Linked DNA regions of Homo sapiens: regions 2 and 3 are each linked to region 1. Evidence: promoter capture Hi-C in 16 types of primary human blood cells and fetal thymus (Javierre and others, 2016). All regions are on one chromosome and are shown on one strand. The core of a region is centred on a gene start or on the middle of the fragment in contact, and the rest is flanking DNA. Distances in the headings are between cores, read along the strand shown.

Region 1 (3,482 bases), core at 443-2,942:
TCTCCCCAGGCCTCCTTTCCTCCGTGGGGTACAACTGGGCTCTGGGTGGGCAGGTGGGGGCTCCTGCAGGCAGTGCTGTTTTCTCCAAGGGGGATGCACGTGACCCGCCAGACCCTCCTGGAAGCCGCCTCTTCTCAGGGTGGTTGTGCTCAGCCCCCACTTCCCGAAGGTCGGTGAGGCTGGGGCTACAGTTTCAGACCAGAGCAGGCAGTGCCACCGAGAGGGTGCCGCGCGAGGTAGGCCGGCGACGGGGCTTCCTGGGCCGCAGTGCCATCCCGGCGACCTTGGCGAGGGGATGGGAACGGGGTGTCCGCACAGCCATTTCCAGGCGCCCGCGACGGCAGTAAGGGAGTGTCCCAGGCGTTGGTCCCGGCAGCCACACCTCGCTTCGCCTTTGCTCACTCATGGAGAGCCCTCAGCCGCCTCCCACTGCCGCTCCTGAATGCGCCTCACACATCCAGATTTGAAAGCACCCATAGGGCCGCCGCCTCCCACCTCCCGAGGAATCCGCTGCGCTGGGCCCGCAGGGAGGCAGGCTGGACGGCCCGGGCGCCTCCCCATTGGTTGGCCGGGCCGGGCTCGACTCCCTCGCGCGGCTGCCGGCCACAGGCTCACCTCCCTTCCCGCCGCGCCCGGGGAGAGGAAGCGAGGTGGCCTTTACCCCTGCGCAGGCCGGCCAGGAATGCGGGGCCGCGCTTCCCACTCTACCCGCCCGAGGGCTGAGGACGGCGGAGGCGAGAAGCGACGCGCAGAGTCCGGGCGCCGAGTGGTGGAGACGCGTCCCAGGCCGTTCGGATCGGGGCTGCACACGGGCTGGGGCGAGGCCCGGGCCGCTGGTTCCCGCCCCCTCCCGGAGCCATTCGTCCCCCGCAGACAACACGACGGGAGGGACCCACGCGCGGCCGCCGGTGCCCCTAGTCAGCCAAAAGCGAGCCCCACTGGCGGGCACCCCCACGAGGCCTGCGCCCGAGGTGCGCCGATCTCCGGGTGCGCCGAGGCCCCCGAGGGTAGGCGCGCGCGGTGCCCAGGCCCTTCCAGACCCCGCACCCCGGGCGGCCTTCCTTGGGGGCGCCTTTTCCGCACCGCGAGCGGCCCGCGTTGATGCCCGGCCGGGCTGGGGGAGTCGCCAAGTTTGCGAGACGCGCGCAGTGCAACCGCGCGTCAGGCGCGGGGACGGCCGGTGACCTGGGCACCCGCGCGCCCCCGAGGAACCTGCGCGTGGGCAGCGCCCGGTGCGCGGCCCGGGAAGGGAGCGGGTGCCCTCGCCGGGGTCGCCGCTCCCGTGGGGTGTTTCCAGGCTGCTCCGCGCTCGCGGGGCAAGGGCGCAGCGGGGGCCAGGGGGACCCCCGCGCCGCGCCGCCCCAGCCCCCCGCCAGCCCAGGGGAGGGGGCTTCCCACAATGCCCAGCGAGCTCCAGCCCGCACTTCCGCTGTCCGGCTGCCCGCGGGGGGGAGAACGGACCCCCGGCGCGGCCCCCTGCGACCCCGCGGCGCGGCGCCGGGAGCCGAGCGAGGGGCGGGGCCGGCGGCCGGGCCGGCGTGGGCGGGGCCCGGGGCGGTGGCCGCGGCCGGGGCGCGGCGCGGGCCAATCAGCGGCGGCCGGGCGCGCGCCGGGGGGCGGGGTCAGGGTCCGCGGGCGGGGCGCGCGCGCGCGGGCGGCGGGGGCCGCGGGGTTGGAGCGGGCGCGGGGGCGCGCGCCGGCCTGACGGACCGACGGACGGACGGACGGACCGAGCAGCCCCGGCGAGCGCGCAGCTCGGACCCGCCCGGACGCAGCGCCCTCCCGGCGGCGGCGGCGATCACCGGCGCCGGCCCGGCGGCCGCGGCGCCCGCCCTCGCCCGCGCCCCATGGGGTCACAGGTAAGCGGCGCCGGCTCATTGTCCGCGCGGCCGGGCGGGCGCATCGCGGCGGGGGCCGGGCCCGGAGCCGGGAGCCGGGAGCCGGGGCCGCTGCGAGCCCGGGCGCGCCCCCGCCGCCGGCCGCCCCGCCACGCCCCGCCCCGCGGGGGCGCCCTCCCGGGGGCCATCGGCGCTCCCAGCTGCGGCGCGGGCTCCGGGGGCGGCGGCGGAGACCCCGGCCCGGCCCCCGCGGGTGCCCCCCAGGCCGGCGGCGCGGGGCGGGGCGCGCGGGGGCGGCGCGGGTTCCCCGCGGGGCTGAGCGCGGAGGCGGCTGGGCTGCCCCGGCCCCTCGGCCCCCGGCACCTCCCGCCGCCGCCGCGCTCCCTCCCCGGCACCTCCGAGAGGGGAATTTTCCAGCTGGTAATTTCTGCTGCGTCAACGCCTGGCCCCGAGGCAGCCCGGGGGCGTCTTGGCGCCCCCCGCCCGCGCCCCCCGCCGGCACAGCCCAGCCGCACCCGGAGCCGCCCGCGCCGAGTTTGCCAAGAGTCGGAACTGCGGGAGGTGGGCGCGGGCGGGTCCCGGCGCCCTGAGGCCGGGGGGTCATTGTCTCCCCGGACGCCGGGCGCCGGCCTGGTCTCCATCTTAATCGCCGGCCGAACCGGGGCGCAGGGGCCTCGGGGCGGGGCGGCTCGGGGCGCGGAGGGCTCGGGGCGCGCGGGGCGGACGGGGCGCGCGGAGGAAGCGGGGTCCGCTGCGAGCCGCGTCTTTGTTTCTCTGTAAATAGACATGTCAGTTTCGCGGGGGAGCGCGAGCCGGTGTCTGACAACTCAATCCCTAAGGCAAACGGGGAATTCTCTGCGCCAGAGGGAGGGCTCCTGCTAGTTGGGGTTCCCCTGGCCCCGCTGACAGATTCACTGTTTGTAGGTTTAACGAAGCACACACAATAGGGCTGGACCGAGGAGCCAGGGTACAGACCAGATGGGGCGAAGAACGGATATTTTCTGACAGCGAAGAAATATAAACAAAAGAAAGTTTGAGATTCGCAGCGAATTTCCTCTCTCGCTTTCCGTGCTGCAATCTCAACGATGCATTTGGAGTGGATTACGGTGGCAAGATTGTGATCAGCATTGTTTAAAGAAATGCTAATTAGAAACGTGTTTAGCGCGCGGCCTGGGCGCAGACACCTGTGCGCCGAGAACTCACGGGCATTTTAATTGTATCGATTGTAGAATCTTTCATATTGGCTCTATTATCAGAGCTAACTTCCCGTTTGGGTAACAGACTGGATACATCTCTGCTGCTGGCACTCACGCTGCCTCTGCAAGGCACTATTTCACTCTACAAGAGTGGAAAATAGTTTGTTCATCAAAAGGAAATGTATAGAAGGGGTTTTTCACATGAATAATGAAGCAAGCGACAGTATTTATCAGAGTAGAACCTTTCTGCTCGGTGTGTTTTACGTGTTTCCAACTGGCACTTTTGGGCACCTCAGCCTGGTTACCACTGCAGAAAGGACTGAGGAGTGAGGGGAGTACTTGGGCACAAGTTACTGCAAATTTAGGTGGGAACTTACTGTGTCCCCTAAAAAGCTAGACATCTTCTCCGTAACTGAAGGAAGAGGGCTGGGGAGTTACTGTCAGATTT
Region 2 (3,482 bases), core at 603-3,102, 240 kb after region 1:
GTGAATCATAAGCCTCAGTCTCAGTCTTTGTGGGCCTGGCCTCTACCTTGCTTCCCAAGGAGGGCCCCTGCTTTGTGCTGGAGTCAGAGTTTGAGACCTCACGAGTGACTAGCCCTGGGTCCTTTCCCATGGCTCAGGTCCTTTCCCTGTCCAGCTGAACTGGCCTCTGATTTTCTGGAACGTGGCTGGTGGCACAGCTGTGGGGACCACCGGCCAGGTAGGCAAGTCCTGAGCTGACCACAGAAGCATTAGCCTGTGTGTGCCTGAGGTCAGTGCTGCCCAAAGATTGAATGAGGCTGGAGCCTCTGACCCTCGTTTCATGGGTCGAGGCAGGCTCGTTGAGACACACAGGACTGAGACCCTGGACCTCCGGAGAGGCAGAAGAGAGGGCCCTGGGAGGGCGGCTCTCAGCAGTTTGGGCCGTACGAAGCCTTCCTGGTAAAGATGAGGATGAGCGGCAGCCATGGCCGTTGGTGCTGTCCTGCGCCCTCATCACTCTTCTTGGCTGTCTCTGTGCCTTTAGAAGGAGGAAGGTTCTCCTGGAAGTGATTTCCCACCTTCCTCTGCTTCAGAATGAGTCACGCATGATGCAGGTGGACTGGGCCCACCTTTGTTAGCTGTGGGTCACTCCCTTGGGGCTGGGGTAGTGGGACATCCCAGAAAGGCCCAGCCCCACAGACTCTGACGGGCACCTCCAGGACACCCACTGGCCAGCGCTTGCCCCCTTCCTGGGGACAGTGCCGTAGCGTGGGCCTGGGCCGGCTGCTTCTTCAGCAGCAGGGTCCTGCACGCCGAGCTCGCGCTAAGAGGGAAGTAGAGCCCACCCTGCCCTGTGGAGCTGCCAGCGCCTCTGCTAGGCCTGCCCCACGCAGGTGGATGGCCCAGGTCAGGGTGGGCGGGCCAGGTGCCTTCGGCTCTGGGGCCGACCTGGACGCTCCATGCCACTGTCTGTCACAGGAAGATCATGGACTCCGGGGAACTGGACTTCTACCAGCATGACAAGGTCTGCTCCAACACCTGCCGCAGCACAAAGATTGACCTCTCAGGAGCCCGTGTGTCCCTGAGCAGCCCCACGTCGGCCGAGTACATTCCCCTCACGCCCGCCGCAGCCGACGGTAGGTGCACAGGGCTGCTCGTCCTGACCCAGCCCCACCCTGGCCATGGCCACAGAGGGTGACATGCCCCTGGGTGGCCTCCTTGGCCCCAGGCGTTTGCTCACGCCAGGACTGCCGGTCTCCTGCCTGGGACCCTGAGTTGTCTGGGATCAGCCTCCTCCTGCCTCACAGAGGAGATCTGGCAGAATTGCTGCTTTCATTGACAAGGAAGATTGAAGCACTTTTCTTTTTAAGCCATTTTGGTTGTAATATAATAACTCACGTGTGGGGAAGGGTATAGCGAGTAACAGAGAGTGCCTGGGCGCCCACCCGGCCCCCTCCCTCCCACCCCCACGGCCCAGCCCCAAATCTGGACCCGCTTCCCTCCTGACCTGGCGGTTTACGGAACTGCGCGCCTGTGCTCCCGCCTTCCGTGCTGGGTGCCTTGCTGCAGGTATTCCTGCCACTTGGGTTTTTGGGTGACGCTTTAGATACTGTTCCACGTTGGTGTCTGTAGCTCTAAACTGTGGAGAGGTTGTTCCCTAGAATTCTTTCCAGCTTTATGAATAGAGAAATTTTTCTTAAAACTACAGTTAGGCTGGGTGTGGTGGCTCACACCTGTAACCCCAGCACTTTGGGAAGCCGAGGCGGGTGGATCACTTGAGGCCAGCCTGGCCAACAGGATGAAACCCTGTCTCTATTAAAAGTACAGAAGTTAGCCGGGTGTGGTGGTGCATGCCTGTAGTCCCAGCTACTCAGGAGGCTGAGGCAGGAGAATCGCTTGAACCCAGGAGGCGGAGGTTGCAGTGAGCTGAGATCGCTCCACTGCCCTCCAGCCTGGGCGACAGTGTGAGATTCCATCTCAAAACAAAAAAACTGAAGTTAAAGTGAAGTTAGGTCCTGGGCTCCCTGGTCACATCTCTGGGTGGTCTTTGGTGATGTGTTTCCAGCAATGCCACATGCATTGTCCCTAAGCTGCCACTCCGCATTGCTGGCCAGATTGTGTTCCTGTGTGCCCAGGGACGTCCTTGTTGTTGGCCCAGGTGGGACCCAGTTGAGTCCTGTCCTGTCCCGCTGGGTAGGAGAGTGAGGCCAGGGCACTAGGGAGGCCTCACCCTTCTCCTGGGCCCCCTTCCACGTCCTGCTGGGGCAGCCTGGCAGGTTCAGTGCTGAGTCCTGAGAAGCCCAGGACACTTGGGCTGCTGTGGTCAGAGGGGCTGGGTAGAGCCCAGCCTCCTGTCTGTCCTCCCCAGGGCCTCCCCAGCGGCTCCACCGCGTTAGTGTTGGCCCTGCCTGACCGCCTGCCAGGGAAGGAACTGGGCCTTCCACGCCCTGTAGTCAGTGCCTCACAGCTAGGCTGAGGCTCAGCTCTTCTGAAGATGATTTGGGTTCTTTAACCTGCAATCTCTGAGAACCATTGACTTGGCTACTGTGCAGTTAGTAAAAGATGCTGTGCCAGCCCCAACTCGGAAAAACGACTCATTCACGCCCCAAATAATTCCAGATGTGTAATATGAGTCATACTCACCACTGCCATGTCTTTGATGAATGTGGAAAAGGCCAGTATTCCCAAAACATTCAACTGCTTCCAGGTCGTTGGTGGTGGTGTTGGAGAAGGAGTCCTGCTCTGTCGCCCAGGCTGGAGTGCAGGGGCCTGATCTCGGCTCACTGCAACCTCTGCCTTCCGGGTTCTAGCGATTCTCCTGCCTCAGCCTCCCGAGTAGCTGGGATTACAGGCGCACGCCGCCACACCCGGTTGACTTTGTATTTTAGTAGAGACGGGGTTTTGCCGTGTTGCCCAGGCTGTTCTCGAACTCCTGACCTTAGGTGATCCACCCGCCTCAGTCTCCCAAAGTGCCTGGATTACAGGCGTGAGCCACCACATCCGGCCCCGGGTTTGTTTTTTAAGCCAGATCTGTGTATAAAGTCTCTATCAGCAACGCCCAAAATGGCCACATATGAACGACACGCCCAGTTGTGTTCTGCAGGCGCGAGAGAGGGACCCACAGGAAGAGCCAGGACGGTTTCTGTCTCTCAAAGCCCCACTTGTTCTGGTGTAGAAAAATGGAAACATGATAGATACTGAGATTTATGATGACTTCAATGAAGCATCACTTGAAGAGGCGAGGTGAGGGCGAGCCCCACGGGCGACAGACGCAGCCGCAGAGCTCTCGGTGGGAAAACAAGTCAAGCAGAAGGATCACCTTGTCTCGCTCCTGACGGTCCAGTCGAAAGTGCTTGTTGAGTACAATCGTAAATGGACAAGAGGAGGAAAGTGTTGAGGATTTGCTGAAATTGGGTGACGGGTTCAAGGGATTTGTTTCTGCGTTGTTTCTCCTTTGTATGTTTGACAACGTCTGTGATTAAAAATAGCCATAAAATATAAGG
Region 3 (3,482 bases), core at 502-3,001, 220 kb after region 1:
TTTGCTTTATGAACACTGAGTAGGAGCTTTTTTTCTAGGATGTTAAAAGAATTTGCTCACATCTTATGCTTGAGTTAACTCTTTGAAGAACAGTGAGAAGTAGAGAGGAAATAATTGCCAAGTTCTCTTGCTTGCTCTGTTTATGATTGTGTCAGTTTTCTTTTGCTGTTTAAGAAAACACCCAATGGCAGGCACCTGTAGTCCCAGTTACTCAGGAGGCTGAGGCAGGGGAATGGCGTGAATCCGGGGGGCAGAGCTTGCAGTGAGCCAAGATTGCGCCACTGCACTCCAGCCTGGGCAACAGAGTGAGACTGCGTCTCCGAAAAAAAAAAAGAAAAAGAAAGAAAGAAACCATCCAAAACTTAGTGGCTTAAGACAAGACATAGTTGTTATTATTTTTAATTCTGTTGGTTGGTTCGTGGTTCTGCTGGTCTGGGCCGGCCTCACCAACCCCTGTCGTCAGCTGACAGCTTGGCAAGGACCTGCTGGTCTGGGTGGCCTTGGCCACAGGGGTCTCTGGAGGGAGGCAGTCTGAGGCACAGGTAGGCTCGGCTGGGTGGCTCTCCTCTGCTTTGCCCGGTCTGTGATCCTCCACCTGGAGGCCTGGACTTCTTTGCCCCGTAAGCCCACAGTTGCAGAGGAAAGTGGGCCTCCTGCTCACTTCTGTTGCCTTGATTGACGCAAGCGACATCACCAAGTGCTGGTTCAAGGGCAGAGCTAAGACTGCCTCTTGGTAGGAAGTTACAAAACGTTGAGATCATTTCTGTGGCCACAGAATGACATTTCCATTCGTCCGCCTCCCGCCTTTTCCTGGGCCTTCCCAGCTCACCCCTTGTGGCCACGTCGGGTCTGGGTGTGGCTGGGGCTTCTTGGTTATGGCACGTCTTGATCCAGAGACTGGTGAACTAAAACCTAGCGACTTCCCCTCCCCTACTGAGCGTGCGGTGGCAGACAAGACAGGACGGGCTCCAGGGCAGGTGGCTTGTTCGAAGGCACCTCACTGATCCAAGATGGGGCAGGGTGGCCCTTTGGCCAGATGCGGCCAGAAAGCTTTCTAAGGTGTGAGGGAAGAGTGACAACCATAGCCCAGGTTGGTCTTTATTCTGAGACCATCTCTTTTTTAAATTTTCTATTTTTTATATTTTTTCCTTTCTTAGATTTCTGTGGGTCAGAACCATTTTTTACCTTGACAGAGTCTTTTGCCAGTGGAGAAACTGGAGACATGAAATGATTTTTTGTTTTTCGAAACAGAGTCTCGTTCTGTTGCACAGACTGGAGTGCAGTGGCACAGTCACGGCTCATGGCAGCCGTGACCTCCTGGGTTCAAGGAATCGTCCTGCCTCAGCCTCCTGAGTAGCTGGGACTCTACAGGCATGTGCCACCATGCCCGGCCCCGTGTAGATTTTTAGTACAGTGCTGGGACTGCAGGCATGTGCCACCACGCCTGGCTAATGGGCTCTCACTGTGTTGCCCAAGCTAGTCTTGAACTCCTGGACTCAAGCAGTCCTCCCACCTCAGCCTCCCGAAGCACTGGGGTTACAGGCTTGAGCCACCATGTCTGGCCGATGCAAAACAATTTGATCCCCTGGGGATTCCTTGTTTGGAGAAGAACCTTCTAGCTCCACTGTGTCTGGAATGTTCCTTGCGAGATCACACTAGTCAGATGTGTTTCCTTTTTTTTTTTTGAGACCAAGTCTCACTCCGTCACACAGGCTGGAGTGCAGTGGCATGATCTCAGCTCACTGCAGCAGCCTCCACCTCCCGGGTTCAAGTAAATCTCTTGCCTCAGCCTCCTGAATAGCAGGGATTACAGGCACCCGCCACCACGCCTGCCTAAATTTTGTATTTTTCGTAGAGACAGGGTTTCACCATATTGGCCAGGCTGGTCTTGAACTCCTGACCTCAAGTGATCCACCACCTTGGCCTCCCAAAGTGCTGGGATTATAGGCATGAGCCACCACGCCCAGCCTGTTTCTTCTCTTTTAAATTGCTGTGGCATAAGGTCCTGCCAAGGTTTCCTCTGCCTCATGGCACAGTGGCCCCTTCCACACACAAGAGCCGGGTCTGGGATGGCATTTGTGCCCTTAGCCTGTGCCCTCTCCCCACGCAGAGGCGGTGCTGTGTGTCCCAGGCTGGGGACAGCAGTGCTTGTTTCTGGCAGTTTCTGAATTAGCCATGCTTGCAGCCTAACAAACCACCGCAGAGCTTGGTGGCTTAAAGCAGCAGACACTGGTCATTTCTTAAGGTTTTCGGGCCTGGGCTGGTGCTGCTGGGCCTCGCCGGGGGGTCCAGGCTGGGCTCACTTGCATATCCGGGCATTGGTGGGCTGGCCGAGGCTCTGCATGTGGTCCTCATCTGCCAGGACACCTGCCTGGGTGTGCTTAGCAGGAGGAGAGCCAGAGTCCTCGTAGGGCCTCGTCACAGCCTCTTGGTCAAAGCTCTTCAAAGCTTGGCCCAAAGTCAAGTGGAGGGGGTGGGAAATAGCCCCCTGTCTTGATGGAGGGAGCCATGAAGGACCAGAGGGCATTTTTCAGTCTGCAGTTGCTTTGCCAGGACGCCAAGGCTCTGCCCTCGCGGGACAGTGGCTTATGGAGCAGTGGAGAGTCTGCATGCGCCTTCTTCTCTGAGAAGAGAACCCCACGTGGCAGCTGAGGCAGGGCTGTCTTGAAGGACTTAAAGATCCTCTTCTTTTTTGTGGGGAATTAAATCTGTTCTTCTACCATCTGGAAATTGAGACTTCCTCTTGCTACATGTTTTTTTTGTTTTGTTTTCTTTTTTTGAGACAGATTCTCACTCTGTCGCCCAGACTGGAGTGCAATGGCGCGATCTCGGCTCACTGTAACCTCCACCTCCCGGGTTCACGCCATTCTCTTGCCTCAGCCTCCTGAGTAGCTGGGCCTACAGGCGCCCGCCACCACGCCCGGCTAATTTTTTGTATTTTTAGTAGAGACGGGGTTTCACCGTGTTAGCCAGGATGGTCTCGATCTCCTGACCTTGTGATCCGCCTGCCTCGGCCTCCCAAAGTGCTGGGATTACAGGTGTGAGCCACCGTGCCCGGCTGGTGTGCGTGTGTTTTTAAGCAAACTTCTGGAAGTTTAGAAGTGCACACATCATACAGTTGGCTGTTATGAGGTGCACAGCTGGGAACCCCACCCAGACCTCTCCCAGCTTCTCCACATCATCTCCCCAGAGGCAGCTGCCCGCACGGGTTCCAGAAACTGGAGACTTGTTCCCTGTTTCAGACAACCCTCATGCCAGTGTGGGAACACCATGTCTGCAGGATTAATTTCTAGAAATGGAGGTGGAGTCAGAGGGGCATGTTTCTAGAAATGGAGGTGGGGTCAGAGGGGCATGTTTCTAGAAATGGAGGTGGGGTCAGAGGGGCATGTTTCTAGAAATGGATGTGTGGGTCAGAGGGGCATGTTTCTAGAAATGGAGGTGAGGTCAGAGGGGCATGTTTCTAGAAATGGAGGTGTGGGTCA

What was found. The method cuts DNA at HindIII sites, captures the fragments that hold promoters and counts their contacts. A CHiCAGO score of 5 or more calls a contact.
Region 2: a contact is called between a fragment that was not itself captured here and the fragment with the promoter of ZBTB46 in region 1, in 1 of 17 cell types (monocytes). The highest score is 6.1, in monocytes.
Region 3: a fragment that was not itself captured here is called in contact with the fragment with the promoter of ZBTB46 in region 1 in 2 of 17 cell types (monocytes and M1 macrophages); the score reaches 7.5 in monocytes.

Annotation. Positions count from the first base shown.
Region 1 is chr20:63,829,474-63,832,955 of GRCh38, reverse strand. ZBTB46 (zinc finger and BTB domain containing 46) reads left to right here and starts at 1,692. Exons shown (of 5, transcript NM_001369741.1): 1 at 1,692-1,859. RefSeq lists a silencer at 1,535-1,674 and an enhancer at 3,257-3,482. The HindIII fragment of the contact is 15,017 bases long and covers 1-3,482 here.
Region 2 is chr20:63,593,243-63,596,724 of GRCh38, reverse strand. It overlaps GMEB2 (glucocorticoid modulatory element binding protein 2), which reads left to right. Exons shown (of 10, transcript NM_012384.5): 6 at 958-1,115. Among named protein-coding and RNA genes, the nearest start is that of HELZ2, 21 kb to the right of the region's middle. The HindIII fragment of the contact is 6,029 bases long and covers 1-3,482 here.
Region 3 is chr20:63,609,818-63,613,299 of GRCh38, reverse strand. All of the region lies in intron 2 of GMEB2 (glucocorticoid modulatory element binding protein 2), which reads left to right. Among named protein-coding and RNA genes, the nearest start is that of GMEB2, 16 kb to the left of the region's middle. RefSeq lists an enhancer at 2,638-2,807. The HindIII fragment of the contact is 1,398 bases long and covers 1,053-2,450 here.